Regions from separate parts of the Homo sapiens genome. Here regions 2 and 3 are each linked to region 1. Evidence: promoter capture Hi-C in 16 types of primary human blood cells and fetal thymus (Javierre and others, 2016). All regions are on one chromosome and are shown on one strand. The core of a region is centred on a gene start or on the middle of the fragment in contact, and the rest is flanking DNA. Distances in the headings are between cores, read along the strand shown. Region 1 holds the start of TOM1L2 (target of myb1 like 2 membrane trafficking protein). Region 2 holds the start of MED9 (mediator complex subunit 9). Region 3 overlaps PEMT (phosphatidylethanolamine N-methyltransferase).

Region 1 (4,378 bases), core at 1-2,500:
AAAATAAAAAATAAATAAATAAATAAATAATGAACAAAATTTTTCTTAAAAAAGAATAAAATCAATCACTTACTGAATGCTTACTGTGTGCTCAGTGCACATGCATTATTTAAGTACATGTAAGCTCCGGAGGCCATAAAAAGGGAGTCCTAATGCCCTTATTTCCCAGCTAGGGAACCTGAGGCTCCAGGGAGGTAAAGGAACTTGTCCAAAGTCGTACAATGAGTTACTGACAGAGACGGATACAGAACTTGAGTAGCCGTATTCACATCCAAAGCGGTATATACAGTACCAAGATGAAATCATTTGATAGTTATGAGGTCAGTTATGATGGCTAAATTCTGGGAAAAGTTATCAGTGGACCGGGTACCTCTCTTTCTATGAAAGGAGGCTGGAAGACGGAACCCCTTAAAAATCCATTCTGGCCCTGCTCCCTCGGGAAATGCTTCCTTAGTATTTTTTTTTTTTTTTATTCAAAAGCTTGACAAGCCCAGGACTAAAGTGTCTTGGCTGTCTCACACGACTGTAAAGTGGCTGGGAGAGGACCTACGTGCTCATTTTATAAATGAGAAGGGCCGGGCCGGCGTTCTCCGAGAAAAAGGTCACAGGAAAGAGTTACGTCGGGCACTATCTGTCCCTGCAAGTCCTCCGGGAGCCTCAGCTCCCAGGTCTCACCTTCTCAAGCGCTGGGAACTCGGCGGTTCCACGCAGCAGACGCGTCTCCCGGTTGCTGGGGAACCAAGCGCCGCGACTTGGTTGCTAAGGGGAAGTCAGAAGGGAGACATCCTGGGTGAAAGTTGACAAGTCACGTGACCACATCTCCGTGTGGTGAAACACTCCTTACACCAACCAGCCGTAGAGAAAACAAATGTTTCTCCAATCAGTACTTTCTATGGGCGGGGATATTCCTAGATTCACCTCTGTTCCGTCCATTTGCGTGATTGACTCGTCTTTTGTCCAATAATAGTAAGAATCCTTTAGATTGACCAATATACAGAGGAATCAAAATGCGCAGCTTCCCCTTTGGGGGCGGGCCAGGGGAGGTGCCGCCACGGCTGACAGGGACTCCGGTGACCTAGCTCGCTCCTCCGCCCAATCGGACGCTGCGGGGTGGGTGGGGGCTTTGCTGACAGAGGTGTAACGACCAATAGGAGGCGGGCTTCGTAGGTGTCCCCCAATAGAGACGCGGCAAGGGGGCGGGGCCAAAGGCCCTAAGCTCGGCGTTCCAGAGAGTGGGGAGGGGGCAAGTGTCAGTCAGGACGGGAGTCCGGCGGGTTACAGCGGAGGCCTAGGTGGCAGACAGGGGGCCCGGGCCGCTGCGTGTTGTCCACCCAAGATGGAGTTCCTCCTGGGGAACCCGTTCAGCACACCAGTGGGGCAGTGCCTCGGTAAGGCCGCGTGTGGGGCAGGAGGCTGGGCAACGGCGGCCGCTGATCCGGCTGGTGAGGACCGCGGGCCTCCGCCGGGCGCCGGTGCCACTTCACGAGCGGGCTGGGCCTCCGCCAGCCGCGGGTGCCACTCCACGAGCGGGCTGGGCATCCTGGTCGTCGGGCCTTTGCCGGGCGCTTGTGCCACCTCACGGGCGGGCTGGGCATCCTGGTCGTCTGGCCTTCACTGGGCGTCGGTGCCACCTCACGGGCGGGTTGGGCATCCTGGTCGTCGGGCGTTCGCCGGGCGCCGGTGCCACCTCCCGGGGGGGCTGGGCCTTCGCCGGGTGCCGGTGCTATCCCACGGGCAGGCAGGGCATCTGTGTCCTCGGGCCTCCTCCCGGGCACTGGTGCCACCTCACGGGCGCGCCAGTGCCACTCTGCCAGGAGGCACCCCTGAGGCCCAACTTGGACTCGGAGATGCCCCAGGCTTCCCTGCCCATCAAGGCTCAGCCCTTCCTTTTGCTGCTAGAGGTGGTGCCAACTGCTGGTCTGCTTCCCCAATGCGCTTTGGGAGATGCCACTGCATGTGTCTTTATCCAGCCCAGCAGGCTCACTGCCACTGCCCCAAGGACCCAGTTCTCCCAAACCCTTTGTGGGATGTCACCTTCTTCTCCATCTTTGTCCCTCCTCTTCGGTACCAGCAACCCTCAGACTGGGCACCCTCCCAGAAATGCCCCCTGCTCCGGGACTTGCTAATTTGAGCTGCAACTCAGCTGTGCTGTAGGAGGGACTGGGATAGGAGGAGGGGCTCTTGGAGGGTGATTATCTTGGCAGGGGGATGGCATGCCTGCAGTGCCTCCCAGGAAAGAAGGGAGGCTGTGTTATTTAATGATAAGAGCCCTGGACTGGGAATCATGGAAGCCTGGACTCTAGCAGTGGTTTTGTCAGTGACTCCATATGACCTTGTGCCCTTTCTGGTTTGAAGTTCCCCTGTCTGTCAAAGTGTTTGGAGATGAGATGTGATAGATCCCTTAAAGTTCTCAAGTTTTGATATTCTTTGTAGTACTCTGCACATTGACTGTTGCTTCCTCCCCCACCTCATATTAAGTTTACCAAAGCTGAAATCTTTTGTTGGCAATGTAGAGAGAATGGTACTCAGCATTATCTGTTAATCCTATAGGGGGGATGTGGACACCTGGGGACACCAGAGATGGCCAGAATCATGGATAAGGAAAGCCCAAAGTGTAGGTAAAGGAATACTGAAATGGCCACCATATGGGACTTCCTTACTAAGAAAGCAACTTGCCTTTTTACCCAAGGCAGTGGCTTATGCCACTTGATCAGTCAAGAATGCTGATTAGTTTGTTTGAAAACTGGATTCCTCCTGGTTGGTTGAAGGACTGGTAAAACGTCTTTTATGAGCCAGGATCTTTGGTGTTCTTATGGGCCTGATTTCAGCAGTAGTGATTTGTTTATTTTCTGCTTTGCTTATGAAATTTTAGCTTACTTTCCAGCCTTTAGTGGAGCCTATAAACTTATTGAGGTCTCTCCTGTTGGCTAATTAGCATTTAGGAGCCTTTCTTTACTTTCTGGCGTAGTATCTTTTATAATGCATGAGGGACCCCAAAAGAGTGTTTTCCCACCTTTTTGACATCTTGTCTCTTGCTGCCCACTGGAGAGTCTCTGGATTCTCACTTCCTTACTTCTTCCCCATGTCCTTTTCCACTCTCTTCAGGTGCTCTTGCATGGCAGCCACACTCCAAAAACTAATTTCCAGCCAGTTAATGGAGGGAGCCAGAAAACTTGCGAGAATTGTTTTCCTTTCTGTCCCCTTTATAATAGGAAGCTCTACACCTTTAAAATGACAAGGTAGTAAATGAGGGGTAGAAGTTAAAGGGGATTTAAAATACAAATGTGGTTGGGTGCGGTGGCTCACGCCTGTAATCTCAGCACTTTGGGAGGTTGAGGCGGGCGGATCACAAGGTCAGGAGATCGAGACCATCTTGGCTAACACGGTGAAACCCCGTCTCTACTAAAAATCCAAAAAAAAAAAGAAAATTAGCCAGGCGTGGTGGCATGCGCCTGTAGTCCCAGCTACTCGGGAGGCTGAGGCAGGAGAATTGCTTGAACCCGGGAGGCGGAGTTTGCAGTGAGCTGAGATTGTGCCACTGCACTCCAGCCTGGGCGACAGAGTGAGACTCTGTCTCAAAAAACAAACAAACAACAACAACAACAACAAAAAACCAAATATAAGAGATATAGGGATATATAGCAAGTGGAAAGAGCTTGATACTTCTGTCAGGGAGACCTAAGTTGAATTTTGACCTGGCCCCCATTTCTTGGCTGTGTGACCCCAGAAAATTGTGTTGCTTTCTGAGGTTTAGTTTGTCAGTCTTCTGAGAGAGAGAGAGAGAGAGAGAAAGATTCCTATTCACAGAGTAATGTAGTTTAAATGAGATAATGTATGAAAACACTTAGCATAGTATCTGGAACATAGTAGAAGCTCAGTAAATTGAAACTGCCACTGTTAATAACAGAATATTTAAGTTAGGGTTGGATTTTCTATCTGGAGAGGATATGTGAAACAACTGGCCCGTCTGTGACCTGTGAAGGAAAATACCCTACCAGGCCCCAGGATTCACCATTGCTCATAAGATGCTTGACTAAAGATGATGATGGCTCCCCACTGCCAGGTAGCCAATAGGTCATTTCAGTTCAGTTCAGGTAAATGATTAATGGACAGAATTAGGTTCTAATGTATATTCCGTACTGTTGTGACAAAGTGTCAAAGTGACTTTCTTGATATTTAGTGTTGTTAGTATTCTTTTAAAAGAATGTGCGGGGGTGGGGGATTGGTGGGAGGGAGGGGGAATACAGAAATAAAATAACAACTACAAAGCTAATGATTAAAAACAGCAGCTGTAGGCTGGTTGTGGTGGCTCATGCCTGTAATCCCAGCACTTTGGGAGGCCAAGGTGGTGGATCACTTGAGGTCAGGAGTTGGAGGC
Region 2 (4,378 bases), core at 1,222-3,721, 500 kb after region 1:
TCAACCCACTATGTTTCACAGGTACACTCCTGAGTACATCTCCCAACAATCCTATGACATAAGCATTCCCATTTCACAAGAGAAAAACAGGCTCAGAGAAGCTAAGCTACTTGCCAAGGTCACCCAGTCAGCACATTATAGAGCTATGACATAATCTGAACCTCTCTTTTGAGGTCCACTATGGACATATTAGAGATAAGAAGATTATGGCCTAGAAAGGTTAGGCATTTATATCAAGATTAGAAGGCAAGAAAATGTCAGTACACAGATTTGAACACAGGGCTGTCTAACTTCAAAGCCTGTTCTCTCTAGTATAACTTACTACTACATCTTTTAAGGCCAACCCAACCCAGCTGCTCTACCAGGGCTCAAGAATATACTCTTGGGGAGTTCAAGAGCTGTCCTTGTGAATGTGTACATTTTGTGTTTTCATTTTTCCACATTTTTCTTAAAACCAGTAAACTAGGGTTAATCAGAATAAACCCTTTATAATCCAGCACTGCCCTAGGATTACAGGGGCTCCATATGTATTTCTGTCTATGATCATTATCACAGGCTCACGAAAACTGAATAGGCTGCCTTATCCTATAAGCATTACTTTTTTTTTTTTTTTGAGGCAGAGTCTTGCTCTTGTTGCCCAGGCTGGAGTGCAATGGCATGATCTCGGCTCACTGCAACCTCCACCTCCCGGGTTCAAGTGATTCTCCTGCCTCAGCCTCCTGAGTAGCTGGGATTACAGGCAGCCGCCACCACACCCGGCTAATTTTTGTGTTTTTAGTAGAGATGGGGTTTTGCCATGTCGACGAGGCTGGTCTCAAACTCTGACCTCGTGATCCGCCCGCCTTGGCCTCCCAAAGTGCTGGGATTACAGGCATGAGACACCATGCCTGGCCCCTATAAACAGTATTTAAACACCAAGTGAAACCAAATGAAGCCAGGGTCTAATGTGAGAACAAAGCCTTTGTAGTTATTTGAAAAGTGGCAGAAGAGCATCAGGTCATCCCACAGCAAGTGAATCTAATTTGCTTAAACTCAAAAGTGGGTGGGCCACTAACAGTCAAGACCTTCACGTTGTAACAATTCCATTTCAGTAAAACAGTGAAGAGCACATTCATGTTCACCTGAATGTTACTGGAATCGTAATTTTCTTTTAATTTACTTTGTTTTGGTCTTTAATGGTTGAGTAAGAGTTACAAGCCTAGGGGTTTACACCTAGTATCACGTGGATATACAGTGAAGTAACATAATGAAAATAATTTACAGCCTGGGCAACATGGTGAAACTCCATCTCTACAAAAAATACAAAAATTCGCTGGGTGCCATGGCTCATGCCTGTGGTTCCGGTTACTTGGGAGGATGAGGTGGGAGGATGGCTTGAGGCCAGGAGGTTGAGGCTGCAGTGAGCCGAGATCACGCCACTGTACTCCAGTCTGGGTGACAGAGCGAGACCCTCTCTCAAAAAAAATAATAATTTAGGCAAACATAAGGATCAGTGAGACTTTTGTGTTTTTGTTTTTGGTTTTTCCTCTACAGAGTCACTTTGAAAACTCAGGCTACCCTGAAGGCTGGCCAAAAGGATGACAACAATTATTTCCTTTGGTACTGTTAGAACAAAGTCAGTACAAGTGGGTCTAATCATCTGAGGCAACTTCTGTGTTTCTGCTTAGTCTAATGTTTCCCATCGCCACCACTCCCGTCTCAATCTTTTTGAATTGTGGGTTATTCCCAATCATGTCTTTTTTTCCTTCTATCTAAACCTTTGGGGGTGAAAAGTTGGCCCCTTTTACTGCGTCCATCCCGTAGCACTTGGCACAGGGAAGATGATGCTTATCTGTTGAGTTTGCTGAACTAAGGAACTAAAGTGAGTATTACCAACATTAAAGGTGAGAAAACTGAGGCTTAAAGAGATTTAATTTGCTCAAGATCGCTGGGATGAACATTTGAGCCGCTGGACAAGAGTCTGCATTTAGTCTCTAAGCTGGCTTCATTCTTAAGGATATCGCACCTCTCGAGGCTCAAATCGTTTGCTTAACTCATGGAATGTCTCTGTGGTCTTGGGAAAGGCCTCTTCCCGCTCTGGGTCTGAGTTTCCCCATCTGTGAAACGGGGGCGTGCCCCAGAGCGCCAAGGCCTCTTGCAGCTCTGAAACGGCTGAGAGGAGAAGCTGGAGGGAGTATGGGGCCTGGTCCTCTCCTAGGTTCTTACCATTTGATGATGTTGTGAACCAAAGGTAAAAAGGAGTAGTTCTCTTCCTCCCTCGCGCGGGCAGGTGACTGAGGCCGTGGCGCCGGCGACTGCTGCGGTTGAGGCGCAGGGACCGGCGGCGGCTGAGGAGGCGGCAGCGGCTTGGTGTCAGGCAGCGGCTGGTCGGACGTTGGCGGCAATACATCCTCCGCCTGTCGCCCGGCTGCCACCCCAGCAGAGGCCATGGCTCCGGGGGTAGGTTAGCCAGAGGTCGGGTCGCCAAAAGCGTCGCGCACTCTACACGTCACCACCGCGCGCCCTGCAGGGGCGGGGTGTGGAGGAAGGCTCTGAGCGTGCGCACTGGGCAGTCGGCGGGAAAAGGCGCGGAGGCGGGGGTGGGGAGGCTGTTGCTAGGCAACGGGCCGTGGGTGGGTCTGGGGTGCCTGGATTTGGATTGTGAGTCAAGATTGCTAAATTATTAAATAGTGAGAAATAGGGGTTTATTTCAGAAATAACAATCTTTTTTTTTTTTTTGAGACGGAATTTCGCTCTTGTTGCCCAGGCTGGAGTGCAGTGGCGCGATCTCGGCTCACCGCAACCTCCGCCTCCCGGGTTCAAGCGATTCTCCTGCCTCAGCCTCCCTAGTAGCTGGGATTACAGGCATGCACCACCACGCCCGGCTAATTTTATATTTTTAGTAGAGACGGGGTTTCTCCATGTTGATCAGGCTGGTCTCGAACTCCCCACCTCAGGTGATCCGCCCGTCTCGGCCTCCCAAAGTGCTGGGATTACAGGCGTGAGCCACTGCACCCGGCCAGAAATAACAATCTTCTTATTCCTATTCACACGATGAAGAGGGCCCCAAAGCCACAAACACAGGAAGCCTTGAGATTAGTAAGGTGCAGCCTGGCCCAGTGCACCCAAGTCTGGAGAGGAGCCACTGGACCTGTGGGAGGCGTAGACAGCACTTACCTGCTGGGTGAGGCACCAAACCCGGCCCAGCCCACAGTGCAAGACATCGAGACCTCGAGTTTAGCCCTAAGGACGCAGAGGCAAAGGGATTGCGGTCCCTTCAATGCTGCAAGGTTGCTTAGAAAGAGTCTAATAATTCAACTCAACACACATTTAGTATGCACCTGCTGGATGGCCACCTGTATGTGTGGTTGCAGGCAGGCTGTCCTTGCTTTCAGTACAAGGTAGAGGGGATTGGTGCCAGGAGTAAATATCATATCCTGGAAGAACGACAAGGTCAGGTACTCTCCATACCTTCGGGCCAGTTCCCCAAGCCCCTAGGTCCCAGTTTCCTCACCCCTAAAATCATATTTAGTTCAGATTCATGGCACAGCCTAAACTGCATTCTAACTTCACATGCGTGGCTGACCCCAAAAGGTCTTGTTGGCATGAGGACTCCCTAGGATCATAGGCCAAAGATGGGTTTATGGTTATGCTTCTCAAAACAAGTTTGATATGAGGGCTGTGTAGTAATTTTCCGGGCAATGGGGACACCCACCCCAAGCTTAGCTAGTGAGTAGAAGACATGAGTGGGGAAAGCTGTCAACTGGTGAGCCCATTCTGCTGTAATCCACCATCATGGGCAGTACAGAGAGGCGAGGAGGTCCACATCCACATAGCATGATGAACAGGAGCCTTAAGAGCAAGGTGGCCAGGGAAAGGATCAATGCTGATATTTTCAGGCACATTGGGAGGGCTGTGCGGAGGCAGATCCTTGGGGAGTAGGACCATAGATGGAAGTGCTGTTGGAGGGTGCGCTGTACAGGTTCTGTAGTAAAGGGCCTCAGCACAGCTCTCTGCAGCAAGAGCTGCCCACGGTGCCCCAGAGAGAGAGCAAAGGGAGGGAGTGGGTTGCGGAGTTTTCTTCCTTCTAACCATTGACCTCTCCAACTAAGGGAAAGTTCAAGAGTTCTGGTTGAGCATGGAGGAGAAAAAGGCCAGATGTGCTTGAAGAGACTGTATACCCTTGGAGTCATCTGGGGAAAGATGATATAGTAATAGTAATAATAATAGTAATTACCACAACTACCATGGAGTAAAAGTAGATACAGGGAACAGAGTTACAGTCACTGTCTCAATCCACAGACAGAGGTCTAGAAGATGGATGTCAGGATCCCCATTTTCTAGATGAGAAAACCAAGACTTACAATGGTTAAGATCCCAGCCTAAGGGTCAACGCAGT
Region 3 (4,378 bases), core at 18-2,517, 380 kb after region 1:
GGCCTCGGCAATATTGATTTTAGACAGGTACTGACCGCACCGGACCGCCGCGGAAACTGGGAGAGGGATCTGCAAGGCCCGAGGGGCGTGAAGGCTTGCGGCGCCTCAAACGCTGCGGGGCGGGGCCGCCAGTTCCCAGGCAATGGGGGCGTGGCGTGGCGGGGGTGGGGGAGCCGCGTGCGGGAGCGCCGGCTGGTGTCTGTGTGTGTGCGTGTGCGCGCGCGTGTAAACCTCAGATTGCGTGTGTCAGAGACGGGGGCGTTCCTGAGCTCGTCTGATTGTGTGCCTGTGTGTGGCCCTGAGATTGTGTGAGACTCAGAGGTTGTCCGTGTTAGTCTTTGGGATTGTGTCTCACTGAAATTATGTGATGCTCTGAGAGTGTGCCGGAGAGTGAGTGTGAGTGTGTATGACCGAGGCTGTGTGTGACTGAGCGTGGGCGAGGGTGAAGGAGGCCGATTATATGTTTGGGAGTGTGTTGTGTGGCCCCTGCTCCCGTCCATCCCCCAGGGTCAGGAGGCCAGCTTTTGCCCAGAGGCAAGAGAGTGGTGGGGACCCTGCCTGTCTCCCAGCCGGCCCTGGGCAGGCTGCAGACCACCACCCAGCCGTTTCGGGGCCATAATGGGTGCGACCGGCCCCAGAAGCTGGGGGCCTGGCTTGCCTGCTGAGGCTGCCCTCTGCAGAGTCCTAGGCCAGAGAGTGCCTGTCCTGGCATCTCCCCAGGCTCCCAATTCCAATGGATTCCAATTTCCAACCTCTCTTGCATTCTCCCTTCTATCAAAGCTTCCTCTTAGATGCTCCATTTACCTTTTTCATCACCCACTCTTCATGAAGCCTGTAAGGCACATCTCTGCCCCAAGCAGCTTCTAATCCAGTTCTTTCGCTCCCTTCATTCCTTACTCACATGTGCATTTATTCACTCACTGATCCAGCCAGTATTGATTCAGGGCCGGCTGAGGGCCTCGTGTCACTCAGAAGTTTAAGGGCACTTCTGTCACTGAGCTTTCATTCTAGGGAGGGAGATTGTAGGCCTGGAAAGCCAGAGAGTTCTCTGAAGGAGCTAATACCAGTTAGTGTTTTGAAGAGTAGCTGATGGGAAGGCGGGATTGAAATCCCAAGAGAGCCTGTTGCCGTATCTGCGAGGGAGGGACCTGGGATCTGAGAGCCGAAAGGTCAGTCAGTGGGGCAAGATTCCCCAGAGGAGGGAGGCAGTTGCGAAGCCCTCCAGGAGGCACAGGAGGAGATGGGCCGCTGGCCCTGAGGGAGCGCAGGACCGTTGGCCAGATGGGTGCTCAGCAGAGGACAGGAAGAAGACTATTACTTTAGTAAACTGTCCATTGAATTACAACATGCAGTCAGATGAGTGATGGGTCCTACCCCTACAGCTCCTGCATTTTCACCAGGTGAACCTGTATCTGTTAATCCTCAGATCAAGATGGGGGGTCATGATCACCTCCAGGGGCTGCCCTCAGAAGCCACCGTGTAGAAGGGTGGGTGGGGGAGCCATGTAGAAGGGGGGGCAGAATGCAAGGGGGCAGTGTCCCTTTGCAGACCCATCTAGGGGCCTGCCCCAGGGCCTGCCAGTGGGCAGGGGAGACTAACCGGGTGTGTGAGGGGTGGGCTTCTCTGCTCTTTCTCCTTTCTCCCCAGGGCTGTGCAGCTGGAGAGAGCTGGGGCTGGGGTTCGGGTCAGGGTGACCCTTGTTGACTAACATTCTGCTTTTCTTCTGCTGTCCTTGTTGGTGCAGTTAAGCTTCCTGTTGCCAAGGGATTTTTCTTAAAGAAAGAAAGAAAGAAACATACAACATACAACATTACATATTTGCTTATGTGGTAGCTCTACTCCCTCCTCAATCAAAATCTCCGGTTTTAAAATATGTCAGTCCCTGGCCTGGGAGAGTTGCAAGGTTTTTGTTCACCCCATGGGCGTCTGAGCTGCAGGATCTCCGGTGCTAGCCCTGTGCTGCTGTGCTGTCCAGTAGAAACATCGTGTGCCACATGCATAATTTAAACCTTTCTAGTAGCCATGTTAAATTAGTGAGAAGAAATGGAAAATAGCAAAGAAATAGAAAAATAATTTTGACAATATATTTTATTGTTACCAAAATATATATCAGACATATTTTGTCCTGTGGCATTCCAAGCTTGTGGCACTGCCTGTGACCAGTGGCTGCCATGTCATACCAAACAGTGCTGCTCTGGGTACCATGCCCTCCACCAGCTCTTTTCTGGGCCTGCTTCAGCAGGTACAGAATCTTGCTTTTGTTTTTAAAAAAAAAAAAAAAAAAATCAGCTGTTGGGGCTGGGCACGGTGGCTCACGCCTGTAATCCCAGCACTCTGGGAGGCCAAAGCAGGTGGATCACCTGAGGTCGGGAGTTTGAGACCAGCCTGACCAACATGGAGAAATCCCATCTCTACTAAAAATATAAAAAGTTAGCCAGGCGTGGCGGCACATGCCTGTAATCCCAGCTACTCGGGAGGCTGAGGCAGGAGAATCACTTGAACCCCGTAGGTGGAGGTTGCAGTGAGCTGATATCACGCCATTGCACTCCAGCCTGGGCTAGAAGAGCGAAACTCTGTCTCAAAACAAAAACAAACAACCCAAAGAATCAGCCATTGGGCTGAGGAGTTAGGGTGAGGAGTGTGCCCGCTGCAGCCCCACTGACTAAGGCCCTTTTGCTCCTTGTTGCCCTCCCTGTCAGGATTCTGGAGCCTTGCTCCTCAGCTGGGCAGCTGCCTGAAGGCAGTGGGGTGGCAGATGGATGAGAGCAGGGTCTGCATCTTGCTGTCCACAGGCCGGGGCACCTCCAGGATTCAGAAGATGACTCCAGTAGGGCCTAGGGGTGCGGGCACCCAGGCTGGCAGAGCACACTGAGGTCCTCAGAGCAAGGGCACATGCCCAGGTCTCAGGTCCCTTTTCCATAGCGAATCACCTGCTCACCAGAGCGGGTGAGTGATGATGTCTCCAGCTTGGTGTTGGTGTCAAGAAGAATGGGGACAGTGAGGGGGTTATGGTGAAGACCAGAATGAGATGAGGGGTGTAAAGCTTTATGAAGTATCGAGTGCAGCCCACCTAAGGGTGGTCCTCAAGAAGGCAAAGCCCTTGTATTCAGAAGGCTGAGAGACCTGGGGCAGGGGACACAGGTCCCTGTGTGTAATATGGGCACCCGAGTAAGACCCTGGAGGCAAAGCTCCGATGGCCGATGCGGGGTATCTTGACTGCCTTTCAGGGAAAAATGTTTGCCTTTATCCAAAATCGTTTCCAAAAATCTTTTGATTGTATTACTTTAGTTGAAATAAACATTAGGCCGTTATATTAGATGAGTTACTCTGTGGTGTTTTCAAGGCCGTACATTTTGTCTTCAGTAATTTTGGCATCAGCCAAGACAGAGCAGGGTTGAGGCTTTCCGTGGCTGCTCATCAAAACAATGACAGAAACTCTTGGAGCTTGTTTCCCCTGCCTCTGTTGAGATGACACTGTTTTTCCTCATTAAGCTGTAAATATGAATTCCATTGATGTTTTGAATGTTGAACTAGCTCTGGATTCCTGGGGTGATCTCTGGCTGGTCCTAACATATTATCCTTTGTATATATTGCTGGATTTGATTTGCTCTAATTTTTGGGGGGATCTTCTTTCTTTATCTGGTTTCATTTGATTTAATTAATTTATTTATTTTAAGACAGAGTCTCGCTCTGTTGCTCAGGCATGTACTCAGGAATGCAGTGGCGTGATACCAGCTCATTGCAACCTCCGCCTCCCGAGTTCAAGCAATTCCCCCACCTCAGGCTCCCGAGTAGCTGGGATTACAGGTGCACCTACCACCACACCTGGTTTTTGTTTTGTTTTGTTTTGTTTTTTGTATTTTTAGTAGCGACAGGGTTGTTGGCCAGGCTGGTCTCAAACTCCTGACCTTAAGTGATCCACCCACCTTGGCCTCCCAAAATGCTGGGATTACAGGCGGTGAGCCACTGCACCCGGCCTGGTTTTAGTGTTAGGGTAATACAGTGAGTTGGGAAGTATTGCCTCCCTCTTCCATATTCTGGAAGAGATTGTGTGGAATTGGAATTATTTTTTCCTTAAATGTTAGGCAGAATTCATCCAGGAAACCATCTGGGCTCAAGGCTTTCTTTTTTTAGGTTTTTAAGCCATAAATTCAAATCCTTTAAAAGATAAAGGATTATTTCTTGAATGAATTTTGACAGTTGTGTCTTGCAAGGATCGGTTCATTTCATCTAAGTTACTTAATTTGTGTTATTCATAGTATTCCCTTATTATTACTTTAATGTTTGTGAGGTCAGTAGAGAAGTCCCCCCTTTTATTTCTGATATTGATATTTTGTGTCTTTTCTCTTTTTTTCTTGGTCAGGCTGGCTGGAGGTTT

Evidence for each region. Contacts are between HindIII fragments. The CHiCAGO score rates a contact against its expected background, and 5 or more counts as called.
Region 2: the fragment with the promoter of MED9 here is called in contact with the fragment with the promoter of TOM1L2 in region 1 in 12 of 17 cell types (non-activated CD4 T cells, total B cells, naive CD8 T cells and 9 more); the score reaches 10.9 in non-activated CD4 T cells.
Region 3: a fragment that was not itself captured here is called in contact with the fragment with the promoter of TOM1L2 in region 1 in 1 of 17 cell types (fetal thymus); the score reaches 5.1 in fetal thymus.

The regions. Positions count from the first base shown.
Region 1 is chr17:17,969,272-17,973,649 of GRCh38, reverse strand. It overlaps TOM1L2 (target of myb1 like 2 membrane trafficking protein), which reads left to right and starts at 1,250. Exons shown (of 15, transcript NM_001082968.2): 1 at 1,250-1,388. The coding sequence starts at 1,337. DRC3 (dynein regulatory complex subunit 3) reads right to left here and starts at 788. Exons shown (of 14, transcript NM_031294.4): 1 at 676-788. RefSeq lists enhancers at 497-816, 1,188-1,757 and a silencer at 1,497-1,546. The HindIII fragment of the contact is 5,656 bases long and covers 483-4,378 here.
Region 2 is chr17:17,475,093-17,479,470 of GRCh38, reverse strand. MED9 (mediator complex subunit 9) reads right to left here and starts at 2,471. Exons shown (of 2, transcript NM_018019.3): 1 at 2,206-2,471. The coding sequence starts at 2,429. RefSeq lists an enhancer at 2,368-2,467. The HindIII fragment of the contact is 9,122 bases long and covers 1-3,702 here.
Region 3 is chr17:17,587,180-17,591,557 of GRCh38, reverse strand. It overlaps PEMT (phosphatidylethanolamine N-methyltransferase), which reads left to right. Exons shown (of 7, transcript NM_148172.3): 1 at 1-27. Among named protein-coding and RNA genes, the nearest start is that of PEMT, 2.3 kb to the left of the region's middle. RefSeq lists enhancers at 1-98, 1-405. The HindIII fragment of the contact is 969 bases long and covers 783-1,751 here.